Regions from separate parts of the Homo sapiens genome. Here region 2 is linked to region 1. The links are contacts of gene promoters, found by promoter capture Hi-C in human tissues and cell types (Jung and others, 2019). All regions are on one chromosome and are shown on one strand. The core of a region is centred on a gene start or on the middle of the fragment in contact, and the rest is flanking DNA. Distances in the headings are between cores, read along the strand shown. Region 1 holds the start of PPIL4 (peptidylprolyl isomerase like 4). Region 2 overlaps SASH1 (SAM and SH3 domain containing 1).

Region 1 (7,401 bases), core at 1,595-4,094:
ACACACTATCTTATATGAAATATTCTTGCCAAAAACATTAAACTGGAACCTAATCAAGGCTCTGAAGCTAAAGAACAATTTATAGGAAACAGGGGACACAAAAATATGTTAACGCACCCAGTAAATAATCAGTCGAATCCAAACAAGAGAAATTCTACAAGACAAAGCACCCAGGTTGTTTCTCAAAATTTTTTCAAGGAAAAAAGGGGGAGAACCAATAGATTAAAACATATATGAGACATTTTAACCAATATATGGACTTTGGGTCCTAATTTAAATCACCATATTTTTTAGAAGTTTATGAGATAATAAGAAAGTTTAAATGATACTAAAAATTATTGCTAGTTTTTTCAAAGTGTGATAAGATCTGTGGTTCTGTTTTTTTATTCTTTTTTACAACTTTTTCTCTTTCCTTTAGTATTTTTCCCTTTTCCCTGTCAAGTTTTTTTTCTTTTTTAACCTGTCACTTATGTGGTACTTAAGCTCATAGTTCCATTTTTTCTTGTTTTTTTTAAAGAGACGTTATATTTTAGAAATACATACTGAAGTAATTACAGATTAAATAGATGCACTGGAGGTGGGGGTATTATAAATGAAGCAAGATTGGCTATGTGTTCACAGCTGTTAAACAAAGCTGGTCATGTGGACATGAGAGTTCATTTACATGATTCTCTCTACATCTGTGTTTTAAATTTTCTATAATAAAAAGTTAAAAAAGAAAAGGAAGAAAGAATGGAAGGTAGGTAAGTCTGGATATGTTGATCATAGATTGATAAGTGAGTATAAATATAGCAGGTACACATGTAAGCACATCTCCAGTCATATGCTTACAAATATGTACAGGGGGTGGACTTATTGTTATGGGCTTATCTTTGCAGACCCACTGCTTGTTAATTGGGTGGGGTAGCTCTACACCCCTTTATTTCCTCATAACTCTGGGAAAAGAGGCCCATTTATTTTGCCAGGTGCTACTCTACATGGGCAGAGCGTCAAAGGAACTCAAAGAAAAGCAAAATCAAGAGATAAAAAACAAAATTCCCTATGATATTCTTTGAAACACTCGATCCAGCCACTCGATCCAAGCTTACCCCAGTATTATGAGGCAACCAATTATTTTGTTTATGCCAGTTTGAGTTGGGTTTCTATCACTTGAACAAAGGGTCCTAACTAATACAACACATTTATATCCATTAGTCATCATAATGAACCTCTAGTGTGTGCCCTAAAAGTAGCAGACATTGTACTGGGTACTCAGGATATAGAGATGATAATTATGGTATAGTTCCTGCTCTCATTGGAGTTTACATTCTTGAGCGAGGGCACGCTTGTAAACAACACCAGGATAATAGGTAAATGTTAAAATAAAATGTGTCATGTGGTTTATAAAAGACCTAAGACACAGCAGAGGAACCCTCAGGTAACTCTGCTTAGAAAGGAGGGAGAGCTTCAAAGAAGAGATGATGCTTGATCTGAGATTTAGATAATAAGTAGTAAGTTTGCCAGAAGGACAATAGTGGAGAAGAATATTGTTTAGAAGAAACAGCAAAAGAATGGTAACAATGGTACGGGAGAGTTTGTAGTGTTTTCGCCAGGTGGAGAGGAGGGAGGAATAGCTGCGTGCGAGGGAAAGCGGAGCACGGCAGGAGGTAGTTATTGTACAATATTGCAACTTATTTCACCTTCTTTGATAGGCTCTGCATTCCATGTGGGTAGGACCCTGTTTGTAACTAATCTCTCCTGGTCTCAGTTTCTTCCTGACTCTGATACATTCTCCACACCGCTGCCTATTATCTTCTCAAAACAAGTATGCCATGCCTCAATCCTGCTTTTAAAGTCTTCAAGGACTCTGATCATCAGTAGGGCACACAAGACTATTCACGACTGACCTAGGCGTATCTGACCACACTCGAGTCTACCATTCCACGACTCACACCAGTCCTTCCAGCCACACCAAACTACTTGCCGTTTCCAGAAAATTCCAAACAAAGAAAGTCCAAGCTAAGAAAACCCTCATTCCCATTCATCTTTGAAAGAACTAGTTCAAGTGTTCTATATAGTATTCGCTAGCTTTGCTTCTTCCCACCCCCCACCAAAGAAGCCGCCCTCTTCTGGTTTCCGTGGCAACTTACACATTCTTCTACCATAACACATAGAAAACTAAAATGGGTTCCTGTGTCTACTTCCCCCAGTGGAAAAATCAGACCCTCGGGGGCAAGAAGCCAAGCCCAGGACTTAGCCCAGTGCCTCGAAGGCTCAGTCCACACTCCAGACAACCTCTTCCTCCTCCACCTAAGCGGTATGCCCACACTCGCTGCGCCAAGCACACCCTAACTGCCTTCATCAAGATTTAACCGATTACACACCAAGCAATAGTTCCTATGTTCCTCTCACGAGTAAACACAATAAAGGCACAAAAGCTATGGGTATTGTATGTGCAGCTCGAATCACACACACACACGCCCCACACACACACTCCCAAAGGCAATTAATGACCGCAAGCACCGTCCACCGGACTGGCCAACACAAAATACGGGAGAAGGGCTGCCAAGGCTCAAACGAATTCCCGTCACAAAAACTTTTCTAGCCAAGGCCGGTTAATAAAATAGCCCAGTCGCGGGCACCAGCAGCCCAGAAGCTCGAGCTCTAGCCAATCTCTGCCCTGGACTGCGCAGAGAAGGGAAAGTAGGGAGACAAGCTCGGGGGCCCCGGCGACAGGTGAGTGGGGCTCAAGCCTCACCACGCGGCCGTTCTTCGGTGTACAAGTCGATGACGACGTCGCCTAAAGTGGTCTCCAGTAGAACCGCCATGGCGCCCGCTCCTCCTCCGCTACAAACCCCGGGAGGAGGGGGGTGACAGGCGCAGGCCGACGGCGTCGTCTACGCCACGCGTCACCCTCGGCGCGACCCCTTTTGCGTCATCTCGCCGGCGCCGCCCCCGGTTCCGAGCAGTTCCTTCCGGTCGGCGTGCGGGCGCCGGGCTGCCCAGCTGACTTACGGATCGGGTTGGTCCCGCCCCCGGCGCGGCCGTTTTGAAAATCCTGGTCCGCCCTTGGCGATTTTGGTGGAAGCCTGTCCCTCAGAACGGTCTCAGTATAGTGTTTTGTGCCCCGTTTGTGTCCGTCTCAAGAGCAGAGCGGCCCTCCGCGCGGCCCTTTTATCCACCAGGGGGCGCCCGCGGCGGGATCTTCTCTCCACCTATTTGGGCGGACTCCTCCGGGTTTCCTCGTCAGTCTCCTTTTCGCAAAACAACTTTGGGCCTCTACTAGGGGTTTCCGATTCTAAGAACTAACATTTTGTTTTGTTTTCTGTTTTGAGACAGGGTCTCGCTCTGTTGCCCAGGCTGGAGTGCAGTGGCGCGATGTCGGCTCACTGCAACCTCCACCTCCCGGGCTCCAGCGATTTTCCTGTCTCAGCCTCCCAAGTGACCACAGGCGCGCGCCACCACGCCCGGCTAATTTTGTTCTTTTATTTTTTGTAGAGATGGCGGTCGGGGGAGGTGGTCTCACTATGTTGCTCAGACTGGTCTCAAACTCCTGAGCTCAAGGAGTTCGAACTCTTCCCGCCTTGGCCTCCCGAAGTGCTGAGATTACTGGCGTGAGCCACTGCGCCTGGCCAAAACTAACATTTTGCCATGCAAGTTTATTCCCCAGACACTCTTCTGGGCAAGCCTGTCACTCTTTCTTATGACATTTTACACATAATCTCCAATAACTTCACATCTGACGAAAAGCCAAAGCTTTTTTTTTTTTTTTTTTTTTTGAGACGGAGTCTCGCTCTGTCGCCCAGTCTAGAGTGCAGTGGCGCGATCTCGGCTCACTGCAAGCTCCGCCTCCCGGGTTCACCCCATTCTCCTGCCTCCGCCTCCCGAGTTGCTGGGGCTACAGGTGTCCGCCATCACGCCCGGCTAATTTTTTGTGTTTTTAGTAGAGACCGGGTTTCACCGTGTTAGCCAGGATGGTCTCGACCTCCTGACCTCGTGGATCCGCCCGCCTCCGCCTCCCAAAGTGCTGGGATTACAGGCTTGAGCCACCGCACCTGGCGGAAAAGCCAGAGCTTTTATAATGATTTACAAGATCCTCTCCTACCCCATCCTACGCCATCTTCTTATTCCTCTGAAGCCACAGTAGACAGTTTGCTATTCCCTGAACACTGCTGACATACTCCTGCCCCATGGCCTTTTCACTTGCCTTGGTTGAGGGACCTCTTCCTCCAGTTATTTGTATGGCTCCCATTCACCTCCTTCAGGCGCTTTGGCGTCGGTCACCCTGTCAGTGAGGCCCTCCATGGCTGCCATAATTAAAATTAACCCCACAGACACTTCTTTTTCTCCATATAGCTTTTTCTCCAGAGTACATTTTACAATCTAACATGCTATTTACGAATTTGTTTGTTTGTTTATTGTTACTAGAATGTGTGTTCCAGGATATTCCATCTTGTCTGTTTTGTTTAAAGCTATATCCCTAATGCGTATGACAGCCTGGTACACAATGTGCAAATAAATGTTTGTTGAATGAATAAATATGGTTTTTCGGTTTGGGTTTTTTTTTTTTTTTTTGAGACGGAGTCTCGATCTGTTGCCCAGGCTTGAGTGCAGTGGTGCGATTTCAGGTCACTACAACCTCCGCCTCCTGGGTTCAAGCGATTCTCCTGCCTCAGCCTCCCCAGTAGCTGGGGCTACAGGTGCCCGCCACAGCGACTGCCACCACAATATTCATGGCTGGGCGTGGTGGCTCATGCCTGTAATCCCAGCACTTTGGGAGGCCGAGGTGGGCGGATCACCTGAGGTCAGGAATTTGAGACCAGCCGGGCCCATCATGGTGAAACCCCGTCTCTAATAAAAAATACAAAAAAAAAAAAAAAAACTAGCTGGGTGTGGTAGCGCATGCCTGTAATCCCAGCTACCCAGGAGGCTGAGGCAGGAGAACTGCTTGAACACGGAAGGTGGAGGTTGCAGTGAGCCGGGATTGCGCCACTGCACTCCAGCCTGGGTGACAGAGCGAGACTCCGTCTCGAGGAAAAAAAAAAAAAAGAAAGTGCTCCCATACCATGTTCCATTTATGCCTGATATGTGTTTAAGGGTTAAAAGTAAAGCCAACAAAGGGAATCCTAAGACTGTGAGTTCTGGGTCATTGTAAGGTTCCTCAGTGCTGTTGAACTGAGCAAACCATTTAGGACAGACCCAACAATTAGTCTTGTTGTAGAAATGGGCCATGGCGGATATTGTAGGAGCTAAAGGGTGTGACGTATTACTAAGTCCCATAAAAAATCCTAACAGACCTAGTGATAGTAAAACACTCATGTTTACTGTTGGTTAATAACTGTTATTCCTGCTGTAAGGATAGTAATTAAGCAAAATGCTACAGTAATTGAGATTCTGTTCGATATTACACCCTGAGGGTGCTATAGTATATAGTAATACTTGGCTTAAAAGGAGAGGTAGAAACGGCAAAAAGTATTTGGTGAGGTAGAGGCGAGACTAAGGTGAGTGGTTCTTACTCCGTTACTTATCTTTTGTGATTTTCAGCTTATGGTCTCCTACTTCTTCGCATTGATATTCAGGTCATTTCTCTGGGCTGTCAGGGGTTGCTCCCTCAGCTTTCCAGGCTTTGACTCGAGTGTGATGTATCCAAAAGTTGATTCCTGTAACTTTTATTGCTGAGGGAGTTGAAAGAATGGTGTAAGGCCCTTCCCAGCTTGGGCTTAGGAAGAGAGAGAAGGGAGAGCCTTCACCAGTACCAAATCTCCTGGGTTAAATAGAGGTGGTCCAATTTCCTGGGGTTGGGGCTTTGCTAATTGTGCTAATTCCTGTTGCAAGTGAGCCAGAGAAGTTACCTGCTTGACTAGCTCAGAGGTTTCTTGATCTAATAGAAAATCATTGGTAAAGAAAGGTCATCCATACAGCATCTCAAAAGGGCTAAGACGAAGTTTTGAAGGGGTACTTTTTATTCGTAGTAAGGCCATAAGAAGAAGAGTGACCCAAGGAAGGTGAGTTTCTTGGGTTAATTTTCTGATGTGTCTCTTGATCATATCATTAGTTTTCTCTACCTTTCCTGAGGATGCGGGTCTTCAAGCACAGTGGAGATGGTATTCTATGCCTAGTGCTTTTGAGACCCCCTTGTGTGACAGCTGCCTTAAATGAGGGTCCATTGTCATTTTGAAGATACCTAGGTAGACCAAAGCGGGGAGTTATTTCATTAACTAACAAACACTTTTATTACCTCAGAGGCTTTTTCTGTACGGCATGGGAATGCCTCTACCCAGTTAGTGAAGGTGTCTGACCATACCAGCAGGTATTGGATGCCCTTTGTCTTCGGCATGTGGGTGAAGTCTATTTGGCAGTCTTCTCCTGGATAACCTCCTATTCTTTGGGGTTGAGGAGGAAGGAGTCGCCTGTTAAGGATTATTTTTAAGACAGACTTCACAAGCATTAACAACCTCCTTAACTGTTTTTAGTAAGTTATCTCCTGAAAACAATCTCTGGGCACATTGATATGTCTTATCCTTTCCCAGGTGAAAAGCTTGGTGAAGGACTTCAAGGACTTTCCATTGGCTAGAGGCTGGCAAGTGGAGCTTGCCATCCTCCGACTGTCACCATCCTGAGGGCCGAAATGTATACCCTCAAGAAGTGGCCCATTCTGCTTCTGTAGGGGAGTACTGAGGTTTAATTCCTCTGATGGAGCCTTCCCACACTAGAGGAGTTTGAAGTGTTAATGTCTTGAGGCTTTCTTGCCGCTGACTTAGCTGCCTGATCAGCTAATCTGTTTCCTTCAGCTACCTCATCTGTTCCCTTTTGATGTCCCCTACAATGCATTACTGCGATTTCTCATGGAAGGAAAACTGAGGATAGTAATGTATTAATTTCCTGGTGATATTTTATAGGGGATCCATTGGTGGTAAGAAAACGCCTTTCCAGGCCGGGCATGGTGGCTCACGCCTATAATCCCAGCACTTTGGGAGGCCGAGACGGGCAGATCACGAGGTCAGGAGTTCGAGACCAGCCTGGCCAACATGGTGAAATTCCGTCTCTACTAAAAATACAAAAATTAGCTGGGCATGGTGGCAGGTGCATGTAATCCCAGCTACTTGGGAGGCTGAAGCAGGAGAATCACTTGAACCTGGGAGGCAGAGGTTGCAGTGAGCTGAGATCGCGCCATTGCACTCCAGCCTGGGCAACAAGAGCAAAAGTCCATCTCAAAAAAAAGAAAAGAAAATGCCTTTCCTTCCAAATGGTCGCATGAGCATGGAAAACTAGGAAAGCATACTTGGAGTCAGTGTAAATATTAGCTACCTTACCTTTGCTTAATTCAATTGCTCTTGTAAGAGCTATTAGCTCAGCTAATTGAGCGCTTGTGCCTGGAGGAAGAGACACACTTTCAATAGAATCAAATTCAATAGAATCAAA
Region 2 (7,401 bases), core at 3,053-5,552, 1.0 Mb before region 1:
TTAGGTGATTTGGTGAATATATTTGTGTAGAAAGGTTTTTCTCTTTCTATAGAATAGATATAGGTCCAGTTAAGCTGACGATAAGAGAAATCAGATTGCCCATTGATATTTAATACAGAATTAGGATAATGTCTATTAGAAAACAAGTCGGTAGTAGCAGCAGCAGCAGCAGCATCGGTGAATAAGAACAGCTCTGAGACCTCCTGATGTCAGTTGTCACGAAATGCTTTCCTTATCTCCTGGCCCTCTCCAGACCCCAATGGCCGTCTCTCACTTTGTGGCCCATTCCTGGTATGCTCTGATTTTATAGTTGAACTCCCAGATTAGATTGTAAGGCCCAGAACAAAGCTCCAGCCCTGTATTTGCATATTTGTAATGTTAACTAAGCCTCAACTTCAGTATAACAGCTGTCAGGATGACTACCACATTCTCAGTACAGCCTTAATGAAAAGTAGTGGAAGAAACCAGCATTCATAGAGTGTCTGCCTTGTGCCAGGCAGTGCGCTAGAAGGCTTCAAATATGATATAAGTATTATTTTAATAATGAAGAATCTAAAGCTCAGAGAGTGTAAGTACTTTACCTGAGATCACACAGCAAGTAAGTGGCAGAACCAGGATTTGCATCTAGATTTCTGTGATTTCAAAAATGTAGGCATTTTCCTTCTAGGATGTTTCTACTTTATCAATTCAGTTAATTATATATATATATATATATATATATTTTTTTTAATGAATAAGCAATGCTTATAGTATATTAGGTTGGTGCAAAAGTAATCGCAGTTTTTACCATTGAAAATAATGGCAAAACTGCGATTACTTTTGCACCAACCTAATACATTGTACTTTTCTGTTCATTTCTTCCATTTAATAGCTGTTCATTAGACTTCTCTGAGAAGCTGGTAATACAAAATATTGAAGCCCGAATCTACAATTAAACTTTTATTACTGATTTTTAAAAAAGATAATTAGCTGTAACATTAATGTGTGTTGTGGGGCACAGGGCGGTCACTCAGTGGCTTTTACTAGAAAAACAACAGTGAATTTGAATCAAGTTCTGCAAATACAGAAATCACTAAGATATAAGCAGTTCCGTGAAGTTTGCAACCACCTAAAAGGATAATAAAGTTTTCATTCTTTATAACATCAGCATTGTTCCTACTGAAATTAAAAAGTGTGGTCAAACACAGTCACTGAATCAACCGTTTTCTTTCTGGGCAAATGTGGCATCTTCATTCACTGAGAGAAAAGGGTCACCATGAATTAACTTGGGCAGTTCGATGGGAAAGTTACCAGCGTTTTTGGCTAGGATGGGGAAGCGGTGAGTGAGTAATTCTCTTGGCCTGATTGGACAACTGTAAACATAACCTTCTCCCCCCCTCTTCTCAGCGATTTAAAGCTAAACAAAATGAAAGTCTGTTTGAAAAGCTTGCTGTTGGTGTCAGAGCCGTGGGATTTCAAACCTGGGTTTTCAGGATGCCTGAGTACATGGATCCTCTAACACATATCCCTTCATTATCTCTACTGAATGTAGCTGATGTTAGGGGAAGTTCTGTGCTGGAGACAGGGAATCTCACAGCACTGGACTCATGGAGGGTTTTTCTTTTGTTTTTTAGGCTTTTTAAAAAAAATGGTTGGTTTTTGCATGTTAAGGGGATTCTAGACCTCTGGGGTAGGCAGAGTTCCAGTGGCCTGTGAAAGGGAAAAATGAGTGAAGTTTCCTTACGACATGACTCATGTGTTTTTTTCTCATCATTTCTCGTTTTCTACTTTCATCCTGTCCACGTATTTGTGATTCAGAGATGTCCTGCAAACGGGGACTGCTGGGTTGGTGCACTGCCGGCTGGCTTAAGCATAACTGAAGTTTTTCTGCCCTACCCTCTTTTCCACAGAGAACCTGCAGTTTTGGAGGATTTGACTTGACGAATCGCTCTCTGCACGTTGGCAGTAATAATTCTGACCCAATGGTGAGTAACATCAGAGGAAAGCAAAAAATATGGATTCAGGCGATGAGGTTGACAATAGTTCACCATTGAGTATCTTTGAGAATTGATACTGGGTACCGTTTTCCTTGGTAATCCTGAGTCACGTTTGGAAAAAAGCTCTATTTCACTTGCCTTACAGACTCCACTGTTCCACGTGGAATGAATGATGACCACTCTCACTGCCATCTCCTTCCTTGAGTAGCACAGTTCCTTTAATGCCTTTGCTTCCAGTTTTCTTCAAGTAACAAATCCAGATAAGTCTGGCCTCTGTGGTCTGAGTCATTTTGCACACGGCCTTTTCTTCTTGCTAGTTGCAAGCATGTAACTACTACACACACATAGTGCCATGAAGTGGAGCCCTGTGATTTGGTCCCCAAGAGTATGTGCTGGCATTTTGGAACACCAGTCTTATTATGGGCCCAGTACCTGGCCCCACATGGCCTATACTAAGCCTAGGATTTTGTGGTCTGGGGTGTCCTGGAATGAACCCAGTCTCTGTGGGACCAAAGCAGACCAGATCCCTCAGGGGTCTGGTGTCAGGCCCAGGTGTCTGCCCTCTCAGACCTGCTTTGGGGTCATAGTCTAGGGACAGGCCACCACAGTGGCACACAAGTTTTGTTTCCTGAAATTTGCTTTCTCAGACCCCAAGGGTGAAGGTGAGTCTTTTTTTTTTTTTTTTTTTTTTTTTTTTTTAAGATGGAGTCTCGCTCTGTAGCCCAGACTGGAGTGTAGTGGCACAATCTTGCCTCACTGCAACTTCTGCCTCCCAGATCCCAGTTAAGCAATTCTCCTGCCTCAGCCTCCCGACTGGCTAGGATTACAGGTGCACGCCACCATGCCCAGAGAATTTGTGTATTTTTAGTAGAGATGGGGTTTCTCCATGTTGGCCAGGCTGGTCTTGAACTCCTGACCTTGTGATCCGCCCATCTTGGCCTCCCAGAGTGCTGGGATTACAGGTGTGAGCCACGCGCCCGGCCTTTGGTGAGTCTTACATGTAGTTTAGCTTGTCCTTTGCATTGTGTCATAAAACTGTAAAATGAAGATTTCATGTTTCATATTTGTTATGATCATGGGTCAGCTAAAATACCCACCTGGGATATATATGAAATGTTTTGAAAATTTCCTGGAAGAGAATTAAACTATTTTATTTGGCTATCGAATTATATTGATTCTTAAGCCAATAGTTTTCTGCTGTCAATCTTTTTTAGAAATGAGAGAAAATATGATTTTTTTCTTTCTCAGGGAGAAGTTTGTTTTTTAAAAAAATGCAGACTAGAATGAGAGATGACCACAATCTAGCTCTTTAAGAGAGAGAAATTTACACACTGAGTGCTATGGTGATGGAAATCCAATCAGATGTTGCTCTTCTAACGACTGAGCTTTCACCATTTGTTCTAATCTCTTTCTCCAGGCAATTCGGTAGTATTATCCCTCTATTCTCCCCCATTGCTGGGATTACATGAACATTGGTTCATGTAAATCACTTTTTTTTTTTTTTTTTCCCTCTGAGAGGGAGTCTCACTCTGTCGCCCAGGCTGGAGTGCAGTGACGCGATCTCAGCTCACTGCAAGCTCCACCTCCCGGATTCACACCATTCTCCTGCCTCAGCTTCCTGAGTAGCTGGGACTACAGACGCCCACCACCACGCCCAGCTAATTTTTTGTATTTTTAGTAGAGACGGGGTTTCACCGTGTTAGTCAGGATGGTCTCGATCTCCTGACCTCGTGATCCACCTGCCTCAGCCTCCCAAAGGTAAATCACTCTTTACTGATGAAATGCAGCCCCCTTGGATGTTAAAAATAGTGGAAAAAATGTAACCTGATAAGAATGTACTAAAAGTAAGTAAAATAAAAAGTGACTCACATCCCACTTTAAGCAAACAAAAATAGTCAATAAGCTTTAATTTTTAATCAAAGAGATAAATAATAGCACTGAGTTAACACAAGAAAAACGTCAAGATCCATGAGGAATGTCAATATTTCTGAGAGCTAGGATGTTAATGGTTTAAATAATAAAACCTGTTCTTCATTTTCTGCGACCAACAATACTTGCAACATTTTGTTTTACAGGGTAAAGAAGGAGACTTTGTGTACAAAGAAGTCATCAAATCACCTACTGCCTCTCGCATCTCTCTTGGGAAAAAGGTGAAATCAGTGAAAGAGACGATGAGAAAGAGAATGTCTAAAAAATACAGCAGCTCTGTCTCTGAGCAGGTATGCAGCTACCTGGTAGAATGTTCCCTTGGTTCTTCCTGACAAGAAAAGCTGAGAATGGCCCTTCTGAGATTTTAAATGGTGCTAAATACACATACTCCTTGGCATTAACCTGCTCCAAGTCCGTGCTTTATTTACGTAGAGAAACACTGAATTCAACACACGTTTATTAAGCACTTTGGGCTGCTCAGCACCGTGCTTGGTGCTGGGAATACAAAATACAGAACTTGCCTTCTGTGTACAGACAAGAGAGACAGACATGTAAAGAAATGGTTATTCTTCAGTGCACTAAGCGTTGTAAATTTGAATACAAAGGAAGGATTTTATTTTCTAAACTATGCCTTGCTACAAAATGGATGTTACCTGAATCAAACCTAAAGCTTTTTTTTTTTGGGGGGGGGGGTGGCAGTAGACTTGTCGATCATAGCATAAGTTGTTCTAGAAGCACATAGCCAGTCTAAGAAATAAACTCAAAGTTCTTCCTGGGTACCAGGCTTTGGTAATAATGTTTCAGAGAGGGGTGTTTTCCCTCATTTGCCTTATCTGTAGCCATGAAGGAAGGTATCATAGAATTGATTTTTCCCCCCTGGATCTATAATTTCATTGCTAGAGAAATGACTGTTTCTGTCTAAATTGCATGGGTGGAGGGAGTAAAGATAGTTGGAGAGCTGGGCCTCAAGGTAATTATGACCATTCAATTTTCAAGACACTCTCCTCCAGCACCTGTATAGCACTCATTTTGTAGCCTGTTGAAGTTCCTGTGTATGAGCTGGTTGTCTGCTTGAAATATGTAGGTAATGCACTTTATCTACCAAATAAAAACAGCAGGAAAAGCAGACATTTTTGCTCAGCTGCTGCTCTCTGGTGGGCACAGTGAGCTAAAACCAAGCATCGCCCCTATGCGAATGACCGAACGTCACCAGCCTGCCACCCACCTCACTTGATTCAAACAAAGCCTGCACAGCAGCTTCAGTTGATTACAGTGGTTCTCACGGGGAAGGGGTGAGAGGCTATCATTTTGCTCCCCCATGGACTCCAGGGCAATGTCTTTCAATGGTCAGACTGGGTTGAGGTGAAGTGGAGTGGATATTGCTGGCATCTAGGGCAGCAGTGCCCAATCTTTTTGCACCAGGGACTGGTTTCGTGGAAGGCAATTTTTCCACGGAGCTGGTGTAGGTGGTGGTTTCAGGATGATTCACATGCATTACATTTATTGTTCACTTCATTTCTATTGTTATTACATTGTAATATATAATGAAATAATTATACAACTCACCATAATGTAGAATCAGTGGGAGCCCTGAGCTTGTTTTCCTGCAACTAGATGATCCCATCTGGGGATGATGGGAGACAGTGACAGATCATCAGGCATTAGATTCTCATAAACAGCGTGCAACCTAGATGCCTCGTGTGCACAATTCACAATAGGATTCGTGCTCCTACGAGAATCTAATACCGCCGCTGATCTGACAGGAGGTGGAGCTCAGACAGTAATGCGGGTAATGGAGAGTGGCTGTGAAAACAGATGAAGCTTGGCCTGCTCACCCGCCACTCACCTCCTGCTGTACGGCCCACTTCTTAACAGGCCACAGACGGGTTCTGGTCCGTGGCCCGGGAGTTGGAGAATGCTGATCTAGAGGATAGAGGCCAGGGACGCTGCCAAACATCTTAGCATGCACAGGACGGTCTGCACAGCAAAGAGCTGTCCATCAAAATGATCAGTGCTCAGGCTGAGAAACCGTGGCTTGTTAGACCTGCAGGAGATAGATGTCTGGACTGCCTTCAGCATGTCTTATCCATGATTTTTTTTCTTTATTCTTTTCATTCTCTTGTCCTTGTGGGTGACGGAGTGATAGTGATTCTATATTTCTTCCCAGCAATGAAGCAGTCAGCATGCTAGTGAGAGCATGCTACTAATTGAAAGCATTTTATTAAGTTTGCTTTTCCCCAAGATAGATTGAAACAGCCACTAAAACTCTTAAGCTTTACGTTCACAGAGGTTTTCTGCTTTATGAATCAGAAGCATAGAATTTTAATGTCATTTTGGCATTTTTCAATAATTTTACTACCATATAGCAATCTTATGTGCTTAGTTCTGTTTTTTTAAAGCAGCCATTTCACATAAGTTAAGGAATAAAAGAAACAACTGATCATTATAAATTTTCTGTAAAGCAAAAATAATGGAAGGTTTTATGTGGTTGTTTTTTTTTTGTTTTTGTTTTTGTTTTGAGACGGAGTGTCACTCTGTCACCCAGGCTGGAGTGCAATGGTGTGGCCTCGGCTTACTGCAACCTCTGCCTCCTGGGTTCAAGCGATTCTCCCACCTCAGCCTCTTGAGTAGCTGGGACTACAGGCACGTGCCACCATACCCGGCTAATTATTGTATTTTTAGTAGAGATGGGGTTTCACTACGTTGGCCAGGCTGGTCTCGAACTCCTGACCTCGTGAGCCACCCACCTCAGCCTCCCAGAGTGCTGGGATTACAGGCATGAGCCACTGCGCCCACCTTGTGTGTTTTTTTAAAAAAACTTTTTAGTAAATATACCAACCATTATGGTAGGGATATTTGTTTTCTCCGTTGCTGCTATATGCCCAATACCTGGATTAGTGCCTGTTATTGTAGGTAATTCATAAACATGTGATGAATAAATTAATAATTTTTTAAAGCATTTGAAAATATATCAGAGACCCACATTTACTATTGCTGTTTTTCAAACTGCGTGCTTTTTTCAGAAGCATTACAGAAGATTTTAATGGGAAAAAAGTTACTTATTTTATGACGCAGAAAGGAGGAATGAATTTTTTTTTTTTAAGGAATTCATACTTTGGAGCTTCAGTAACTTCCTAATAATGTCAGCTCTAGTTTTCTTTGTTGTTTTTGAGGTCGCTTGCTCACTTTCCTCACATTGAAAGCACTAATGTGTGTTGGATCAGAAGCTGCTGTTGCTGATGTCCTCAGATGTTTGCAGGACCTGCGGAGCTGTGTTAAGGCCCTTCTGATGACTCGGCAGCATGCAAATAGCAGGTTTCATTTTAGCTGGTTTTGAGCCCGTGTGGCTGCGGCCATATGTAATATGCCAGAGACTTTTCTATTTTGGCAAGTAAACAATTCTCACTGCAAACTTTCTGAAGTGTGATATCGTCTATTGATGTAGCACCACGAATCAAATAAGCATGCTATACTCAAATGTGCAAATGAGGAGCCG

What was found. The method cuts DNA at HindIII sites, captures the fragments that hold promoters and counts their contacts. A contact is called where the count stands out against the background at its distance.
Region 2: a fragment that was not itself captured here is called in contact with the fragment with the promoter of PPIL4 in region 1 in 1 of the 25 tissues and cell types used here (hippocampus).

Annotation. Positions count from the first base shown.
Region 1 is chr6:149,543,199-149,550,599 of GRCh38, forward strand. It overlaps PPIL4 (peptidylprolyl isomerase like 4), which reads right to left and starts at 2,845. Exons shown (of 13, transcript NM_139126.4): 1 at 2,738-2,845. The coding sequence starts at 2,807. RefSeq lists enhancers at 2,735-3,034, 3,738-4,414. The HindIII fragment of the contact is 4,905 bases long and covers 222-5,126 here.
Region 2 is chr6:148,523,402-148,530,802 of GRCh38, forward strand. It overlaps SASH1 (SAM and SH3 domain containing 1), which reads left to right. Exons shown (of 20, transcript NM_015278.5): 11 at 1,890-1,964; 12 at 4,052-4,195. Among named protein-coding and RNA genes, the nearest start is that of SASH1, 180 kb to the left of the region's middle. The HindIII fragment of the contact is 3,300 bases long and covers 2,653-5,952 here.